2 separate regions of the Homo sapiens genome follow, and region 2 is linked to region 1. The links are contacts of gene promoters, found by promoter capture Hi-C in human tissues and cell types (Jung and others, 2019). All regions are on one chromosome and are shown on one strand. Each heading gives the region's core, a stretch centred on a gene start or on the middle of the fragment in contact. The rest is flanking DNA. Distances are from core to core; before and after follow the strand shown. Region 1 holds the start of LRRC18 (leucine rich repeat containing 18). Region 2 overlaps WDFY4 (WDFY family member 4).

Evidence for each region. The method cuts DNA at HindIII sites, captures the fragments that hold promoters and counts their contacts. A contact is called where the count stands out against the background at its distance.
Region 2: a fragment that was not itself captured here is called in contact with the fragment with the promoter of LRRC18 in region 1 in 3 of the 25 tissues and cell types used here (aorta, liver and stomach).

The regions. Positions count from the first base shown.
Region 1 is chr10:48,937,563-48,942,266 of GRCh38, forward strand. It overlaps LRRC18 (leucine rich repeat containing 18), which reads right to left and starts at 2,278. Exons shown (of 4, transcript NM_001378102.1): 1 at 2,184-2,278. It overlaps WDFY4 (WDFY family member 4), which reads left to right. Exons shown (of 62, transcript NM_001394531.1): 48 at 4,244-4,286. The HindIII fragment of the contact is 9,630 bases long and covers 1-4,704 here.
Region 2 is chr10:48,894,926-48,899,629 of GRCh38, forward strand. WDFY4 (WDFY family member 4) reads left to right here. Exons shown (of 62, transcript NM_001394531.1): 45 at 2,529-2,649. Among named protein-coding and RNA genes, the nearest start is that of LRRC18, 43 kb to the right of the region's middle. RefSeq lists an enhancer at 2,393-3,153. The HindIII fragment of the contact is 6,329 bases long and covers 1-4,704 here.

The DNA of each region.
Region 1 (4,704 bases), core at 1,028-3,527:
ATTATGGTAACCTCATTGGGCCTTTGTGGAAATTAGACAATAGGCAAAAAGTCTTCACACTTTCTAACAGGTTAAACAATTAAGTGTTATTATTAGGTCTAGAACTGTATGCAGATTTTCCACGTTAGGGAAATGAAAAGCGATAGGTAGTTATAACAGAGAGGTTTAATGAGCTGTTCATCCAGCAGGGTGTCTCTGGTTTGAAAGGGTACGTCTGTCTCTACATGGATTTCTAATGCCCTGCCTGGGTTTAAAAAGTAGAGTCCAGGTTGACCAAGATGTGCTTCTTAGGAGAAATAAATGGGGAGAGAGGGAGTGTGTTTGGCTTCTCACTGAACAACTCTGTCCCTGCCACACTCTACCCCTGCCACACTCTGCCCCCAGCATCTCCCCAGCTCACACATTCCCTACCCAGGAAGCCTCGCCTGGCAATGGCCAAGCTGGACTATTTTTCTCCTGTCCTGAGAAATAGCCCACACGCATCAGCAGGCCTGTGTTTCCAGCTTGCCCACATAAGCAAATTTTCTTCTCATTGTGGCTTGCGTATGCCTAGTGCTTCTTAACTCAAGAAACAAATCCCTCAGTCACTCACTAACCCATTTTACCATGTCCTCAAAACTGTTTTTGCAAATAGGCAACACAACATGGGAGAATTTGGAGAGGCAGCAGGATTTTGAGATGTGTCTGCATTAGCTCGGGGTCCCAGGTTAACCTGCAGGCCCTCTGTAGTTGTCTGCCATATTAGGGCTACACCTAGCCTCCTAGTGCCAGGTGAAGAAGAGGATAGGCAGAGACCCCAGACTCCTTCCAGGGCTGAGAGGGTGCAGCCTTTAGCCAGATGAGTCCCTCGGCTGAGAGCCTTTGGTCTGGGGTCTAACCCACCATATCTGGAGGCCCAGCCACAGGCTGCTCTGCCAGCCCCCGATGGAGGAAGAGCTCTTGGAACATGCCTCTGGCTCCTTCCTCTCTGCCACCTGCTCTGGGGGCCTGGTTTCAGGGTAGGGTGGAGGTGCTGTTTGGGTGGAGCTGGCCCAAGGGAGAAGAGTCAAAGCAGGACTATGGGGCAACTCAAGGGCACTGATGCTGTGCAGTGTGGGGTAGGGAAGGCCCTAAGGCCACATGGCAGTAGCGCTCAAGCTTCTGAAGCTCGTCTGGGGGGGTAAAGGACAGAGATTTGGTTAAAAATGAAGCAGGATGGGTGTAAATGACCCCTGAAAATAAGGAAGAACTTGAACTACCCACGACGTCCTGATTCAGAGATAATCTTTCCATCTTTGAAGTCATCCAGTAGAGGTGGACACCTGTCCTGGGTGGGAAGGGAGTGAAAGGGTTGATGTGATGTCCCCTGTATGTCCGCCTGTGCTAGGCCCAATAAGGCCAGGCCGGGTAACCGCCACAATCCTCACTGGCTTCATTCGAGTTCTTCTGTTCTTCTCTGCTCCACCCCAAGTTGCCCACAGGCCCCAGTCTTGTCTTGTAGCTCAATGCAGGCACCCAGCAAACCCTGAGGAGCTTCTCAGAATTGTGTCCACTGGGCTGACTGAGCAGGTGCCCAGGTTCCCAGGTTGCACAATTCTAAGGTCACTCAGAGGGGGACTGGCAGAGCCAAGAAGGTCTTGACCAGAAGCAGGCCCCACTCTGCCACTGCACTCTCCTTCCTCCAAGAGTAGAAAAGAATCTCCCCTGCTCCTGAACAATGTCAACATCGCCAGGACCACGCCTGTTGAGTAGCTCCGTGCCCACACCAATGCTAGCCTTTTCCAGACCCATGGTCTCACTGGCTCTCCCACACCCCTGTGTGACAGGTGTGGCCAGTGTGTTGCAAGGATGATATGGCAAATCAGAGCGGCTTGCTGTCTTGCTCGGGGCCCCCCATTTAAGTGGTGGAGATAGAATTTAGATCCAGGTGTCCCTGACTTCACAGCCAGAGCTCTTTCTCAGGCTGCCTCCCACGGATCTCAGGAGCACATTAGAAAGCCAAGAGCCATTTGCAACATCTTATTTAATCTAAAACTTACATGATAATGATGGATGATGGATGATGCGGTTTATTAACTTTTAAAGAAATACTTTCAACTAATCACCAGTTACCAACAAAATTCACATAGATCATTTTAAGAGTTCTGTAATCACCTTCAGATTAATATGATTTTAAAACAATATTTTTAAAAAATAGATCTCACCTTTGGTTAGGTGTCCTGGAACTGCTGGTAATGGCGTCTTTCTCTGATGGTACCAGAAATAATGGAACTTCCTTGAAGCTGATAGCCAATGAAATGAGGAGGGGGATGGTGAAATGCCTTTTTCTTCTGTACACCATTCCACCTGATAGTAACATCACAAGTGACCACAGGCAAAATTCTAGAACCTTGTCTGAAAGGGAGGAGAGCAGAGACTGAATCTCATTTCCTGGATCCTAACAGGCACATTTAGCTCCACTTCTTTCATTCCTCTGTCCTCACTCCCCTGTCAACTTCTAAAACAGAGTAGCAAGAGCAGCAGGCTGTGGCAGGCCAACTCCACATGCTCATGGCTCTGGAGGGCTCAGCACAGGTCCTTTTCAAGGTGATGACCCTCACTGTCTCCAGCCTGGGCTCTGCCCTTGCCTATAGCCTTAAGAGCAGCCTACCCTCCAGAACTGGGTGGGTGGCAGAGTCGCAGACACAGCAGGAGAACCATATCTTCACTTGACCCTTTACAAGCTAAAGCAGTATATCGGAGCATGTTTTGCTTCTGCTTATTGTTGGGTGTTGCTTGCTTGGATACATGGCCCAAATAGATGACTTCTCTATTAGGGATGAAGAGGTAAATCCCAGCCTGAGGGTTGCTTTCTGCTTATGGAAAATCTGCCAAGTAAAGAATTGAATGCAGAGGGATGGAGAGCCCAGGACAGAAGATGTGACGGTGGGGCTATGATGGGAATGTGAAGCAGCACTGTCCCCCTGGGACACACGGGCAGCCAGGCCTTGTCCAGACTGAGCCCGGCAGGGTCCTGACACAGACCATGCAGGTGGAGCAGAGAGTATGTGGGGACTGGGTCTGTAGGTACCTGAATAGAACTGTGGCAGAGGGGATGGATGGAGAGAACGGATATGATTTGGCTTGGTGTGGTGGAGCATCTTGAGAAGACCTGGTCTTGGGGGTAGAGGAGAGTCTTATGGAGTTGGGGAAGAAACGGCTGGAAAAGGAGCAAAGGGGCACCTTGGAGGCTGAGGAGCTGGGCTCTGTAATCTCTGCTGAAGAGAAGAGAGGTTTCAGGTGAAGGGAGAGGGGCTCCTCCCCACACTCTCCCCAGTATTGCATTTTGTTACCCTTTTTTCCTACCAGGGCAGTCCACAATGGGACTTCTTTGGTTTGATATTTAAGTCTTAATTTTAGCCATGTACATTAGTATGGCCTTTTAAAGGAACCATTTGGCCATAGGTAGCAAAATGGTAAATACTCATACTTTTTAACCCAGTAGCACCACAGCTACTCACAGAAGTACCCAGAGACATGTGCCAAAAGGTGCTCCTGGAAACGTCAGTTGTGAGAACAAAGCCTGTCATGGGGGCGGTGAATCAGTTAGGATCCAGCTGTGCAACCCTGCCCCGTGGTTGCAGAGATGAATGCGAAAGGGCAGTGTGAGCCGGTCTCCAGGGCTGCTGCAGCACAAGGGAGGCTGGGTGGAGAACCGGGTGTACGATGTGATCCCATGTATGATTGAAGTTTTTTAGAAACAAACAACAAAAAAAACTATGTAGGCATATAGGCAGGCATATGGGTAAAACATTTTCTGGAACATACACTGGAAACTGGTGACTGTGGACCCTTCTTGGGAGACCCTTAGGCCATATCTCATGGCCTTCCACGTTGTTTGCATTTTATCCACGAGCAAAACAAGGGGTCGGGGCAGGGATAAAGAAGGCCGAGATGTGGCAGGGGAATTCTGTGTGGGTTGTGAAGGAGGCCCCCAAGCCTGAGGCTGCATGTCCCCTGGAATTCTTGAGGCAGCAGCTTGTTCTGGCATCACAGCGGAGGGACACTGACTGCAAGAACCTAACCTTCAGCAGGCCAGGGTGGGGCAAGAAGAGCTGGATGACAGTCTCCCTGTGCTGTCCGCTGAGAGTTGCTCTGGGATTTGGGAAGTCTGCAGCTTTCCTGAACACCCTGGTCCCGTGAAGCCCAGGCAAGCCCCACCTCTCCCCTGTTTGTATTCTTGCCTTGGTATATTTAGTCACCACCTTGGTTTTCTGTCCCACAGGAGATACCCCGGCTCTGACAGGATCATGCTGCAGAAGTGGCAGGTACAGTAGCTCCTCCAGAGGGAAGCCCTCTGGGAATGCAAACCAGAGAATGGCTCAGGCCCCAGCGATGGAGAGGAAGTGTGTGGATCAACCAAGAAGGGATCTTATTATTTATTATTATTATTATTTCTTTGAGATGGAGTTTCACTCTTGTTGCCCAAGCTGGAGTGCAGTGGCATGATCTCAGCTCACGGCAACCTCTGTCTCTTGGGTTCAAGCGATTCTCCTGCCTCAGCCTCCCAAGTAGCTGGGATTACAGGCACCTACCACTAGGCCAAGCGAATTTTTGTATTTTTAGTAGAGACAGGGTTTCACCATGCTGGCCAGGCTGGTCTTGAACTCCTGACCTCAGGCGATCCACCCACCTCAGCCACCCAAAGGGCTGAGATTACAGGCATGAGCCACTGTGCCCAGCTGG
Region 2 (4,704 bases), core at 1,370-3,869, 42 kb before region 1:
AATGGACAAAGGACCTCAGCCAGCAGCCGGTTTGTATTAAAGCATCCTGGCAGAAGCATTCAGAACCAAAGCGGTGTTTTGTGTTTGATCCATCCTACCACAATGCGGCTTAGAGGAGAGGGCCTGGGAGGGTTGTTCTGAGAAGGGTCTGCAGAGAGCCTGAGTCTGCAACCTCAAAGCCCAGCTGTTCAGGGGCCTAAGCAAGGGGCTCAGGCTGTGTCTCACTTGGGCAGGCTTCCCTGCTGCCCAGCACAAGTCGAAGCTCTTAGTACTGCACATGCTGGACTGCCACTGACCATAGACTAGAGAATTCCCTCTGGGTCTGTGACTGCTTGGCCTCTCTCAACTTCCCCAAGAAGTGGGGCATGGAGGCTCCATGGGCTACATTGTAGGCTGGGCCTTGGGGACCACACTGGGAGCTGGAATGGGAGAAGCTGAAACAATTTCCTCACCCACTCCCTGTCACCTTAGGCTGGGGCTGGCAGGACCACCTTGGGGCAGGGGCCTTTGTAGCCCTTGGCTCTCTGGGCCTGTGGTTGGCACACAGGCTTCTTGAGGGCTGGCGTGCTTGGGAGGCCTTCGTTTCTTAGTCCTGGCATCTTATCAGAATGGCTGTGGTTGTATACACAATTTAAGATGACTACATGCCCCAGATGTTCAGAAATGTAACTGTCTATAACAGAAATCAACTTTATTTCTGAAGCTCCCATGTGTCCAGATGATGAAAAGCTTCATATGATTAGCTCAAGGCATTTCAGTTATTTCCAGTGTACAAATTGTTCTCTTTGGGAATAAATATTTGGACAAATTTATTATCCTCCCTTTCCCCTCCTCTCTTCTGCTTCTCTGGGAGGAGGGGTCACTCTGAGATCTTTCTGGAAAAGCTTCCTGCACACCCCTCATAACTCTCCAAGGGGCCTCATCTCGGGACTGCCTGATGCCTGCTGGAGGCATGCCTCTGTTCCTCCAGGTGCCCAGGAGGTGGGTCCCTCATCACACGTGGGTCCCTTCTCTGCCTTTTCAGTGAGTTCCTTATCACCTCTCCAAGATTGCTTCTCACTGCTCCAGGCCTGGCCTGGGAATTTTAAGATGCACTCCCTACATTTTCTCTGTCCAGCCTGGGTCTTGCAAACTGAATGAGCTCTGGCTTTCAGGAAGTTATTTCTGCTGTGTGACTGAGCAATCGCTTCAGAATTCAGTACACCTCTTTGTCCTGGGCTGGGTATACCCAGCAGCTCAGGCCTGTGCCTTTGTATGGTCTGCAGGGGAGACAGACCAGTCAGACATGCCGCCAAGGGGCAAAGGATATTTGCTGTGGTTCCTGTTAGCATGGATGCTGGGAGCACAGATGAGTGGCTATGTCATCCCCACCAGTACCTTGACCTGGGATGTGGTTTGACCTAAGCCAAGGGTAGGAAGGAGAATTACCACTATGGCCCCACTGGGAGTCAGAGATGTTTAGGGGCAGCTCAGCTGAGAGCCAGATAGCTCTCAGGGCTGCCGAAGATGTCAGGGAGACAGGCCAAGGGTCCTGAAGAGCTCCCTGGTTTGACACGAGACATCACTCTACAGTCTCAGTGAGAGCCTCACTCACCTCTGAAGAGACCTCATCCTGAAGGTTGCCAGGGCCCAGGCCAGGCTGGGCAGCCTCTCAGGATGCAGGCGCTGTGCAGATGAGCTCTAGGTGCTGTCCTCATGCCTTGCCAGCGGCCTCTTTGCCTTCCTCTGCTCCACTCCCTCCTCTTCCCTGTGGTGCCTGACCCCTCCTAACTCTGGTTTGCATTCAGTCTCACAGTCACCTGACTTCCCTCAAACCTCCCTGCCAAGTGCTCTGTACTCCCCAATCCTGCCATGAAGGGTCTGAGTCCTGTCAGTCCCTGTGGCAGCCACAGGCCACACCTGACTCAGTTACCTTGTCCAGCCCCTCAGCCCTGCCAGGGAAAGAGGTCATTCAATACAAAACGAGAACACCTGGGCAGAGGGACTAAGGTGTGTGGCACGGCAGGTATCCTGGGGCTGAGACTGTCACGCCTGGGCAGAGGTAGCTGGCACAGCGCCAGGCTGGGCATGGGGGAGCCAGGGAAGAGAGGCCACAGGAACCCACGAGGGCTCCTGGGCATGGTTTACAGTCACGCACAGGACCCATGAAGCCCTCCCTGCTGGCCCCCACTCTCACCCAGGGGCCTTCTCACCCCGACCCTCATACCCTTTGTCAGCATCATCCTGGAAACTGCGCCGTCATATTGCTGTCCCCTGGCCTGGTGAGGCTGGCACCCCACCCTGTTCCTCCAGGGCAGGGCAGCTTTCACGTGTCAGCGGCCAGTGCTAGAGCTGACATGGGCAAGCACTCAGCAAGGATTTCTCAGATGAGTAGGGCTAGCACACTGGTTGGCAGTGACCACCGCACTTCTCTGATGTGTCATTGGAAATGTGGGTGGAGCTGGTGGAGGGCAGGAAGAAGAAGAAGCCTGCACGTGTCCTCACTCTGATGTCTGAACATGTGCCCTGCATGCCTGTTTCCTTTTCAGCATCAGCGATCCGTTCATTTTCAACCTGTGCAGCAAAGACAGGTCCACTGACCATTACTCGTGCCAGTGCCACAGCTACGCTGACATGCGGGAGCTACGGCAGGCTCGCTTCCTCCTGCAGGTAAGCACACTGGGTGCTGGCACGCCTGGGGCCTGCGAGAGGCAGGGCCATGGGACAGGTGGTCCAGGAGCCATCCAGAGACACACCTCTGTGACTCTTCTTTGTGCCTATGCACAGCCCAGTGCCCTTAAGGAGACACCCGCAAGTTCCCTGGGCTTGTGGTGGCCCTGGTCCCAGGTGGGAGTTCTGACTTCTGCTCCACTCTGCAGTCCTTGCCGTTGGCTGTTGGGCCTTTTGCTGTGTCTTTTAGGATTTAGCTGCTTCGCTGTTTTGCTCTTGACACAGCCCAGAGCTGCCTTGGAGATTTAGGAATACAGGGCAGGACAGATACATTACCTCCCAGTAGAGCTGATAACTGGGAGTAGAGTGCCTTCTGCCCTGTCCTGCCCACAGGGGTAAGACCTCCCTTGCTGACATACTCTCCCCCTTTCTCCCCAAGGTGCTCGCCTATTGCCAAGCTCCTGCTTGGCCCTGTTTCTGGGGCCAAGTGGTTTAGGGATCTCCCAGCTGCCCCCTCCAACCAGGATCTTTCAGTGCCTCACCCATGCCTTCAAGGGCTTAGCCAGGCATGCAACAGTGATGGTGGCTCCTTTCAGAGGAAAAGCTCAGCCATAAGCTGGTCATAACCTCCCACTTCTCATCCCACTTCACAGATAGATCACACTTTCTAGAAACATCACCTGAGCAGCAAAGGGAGTAGGGTAAACTTCAGGGGCCCCCAGTGACATCAAACACATGTTGCCTTCATTACCCCAAGCTCAGCAATAGCAAAGCTGCATCCCCAGTCCCTGGGCCTCCAGGGCAGCTGGCAGAAAAGGGGATCCTAGGGACCACGTAACAGGAGGGTCAGGATCTCTTCCCACCCTCTCTACAGGATCACTTAGTTCCAAAGGCCAGCAAGAGAGCAGTGCTTGGCCTAGATGAACTAGACATTTTTCATTTGTAAATCTATTTTCTGTACGTAGGTCATTGATTCATCCAGTGACCCCTCCTGCAAGAGGGCTCACTATCATTCTCTGAAACTGAAGCTCAGGGTGGCCTTTAAGGTGGGGGAATTCCTGAAAGGCCCCAGCTGCCCTCCTGTCAAGGGTTTGCCAGCAGCTCCACTCTAGCCCTCTAATGAGCACTCTTCCTCCCTCTGCTGCTTTTGCCTGCAACACAGTTAGTTCTCATTTTGCCTGAGCTTCCTGAGGGCCTTTGCAGGGTGAAGGAGCAGGAAGAGCAGAGTGGAAGTAGCAGCCCTGCCCTGATGGTTCTGGGCAGTGCTGCTGGTTCTGGGCCAATCTCCACCTCAGCTCTGCCACATTAGCTCCTGTGGGCACCTCTCTGGTTTCCTTGCCCTTCAGTGAGCGGGAGGCCGTGTCCTGCCTTTCCACTATTATACATACAGCACTGAGTACAATTTTAGGCACAAAATAGGTACTCAAAATTATTTTTTATGATTATATGTCTACCTCACATGTTATATAGAGTAGCAGATAGGTATCAGTCAGTGGGGTTTTTTCCCCAAGTACATGGTGATTGTTTCCAGAGGGTTGGTTCACCTGAAGTGGTGGAAGCCAAAGGGAGAGCTTTTTGAGCAAGGCCACCATTTGTCCATCCCTGGATTCTCCCAGGAGAAAGGCAGAGCTTGGCACTCAAGGTATCCAGGGCAAGCTGTACCCTCCACAAATTCTGCATTCACTTCCTGTTTTGCACATTATTTATATTTCTATTTGTAGAAAAAAATCCAAGAGTCTCCTGTTCACTAGCAGAGGAGAGAAGGTATGCAACATCCTTGCAGATACCTTCTCTCTGCTCAGGAGAGTTAATGAACTGGACTTTGAGAACTCACTTCCAGCCAGGTAGATGCAGGACAGGACTCTGCTATTGGGTGCAGTACCCACCTCTGAGTCTGAATCTTACCCCACCCCATCCTTCCCTCCATGTACAGGTCTCTTCTCTCCCTAACTCTCCCTTCAGCCCTGGGAATTCTCTCTCCTTGGCCTCATCTCATCCCTGAGGCTTATCTTATAGGTAACTCACTCTATCTCTTATTCCAAGTTTATTATTTAC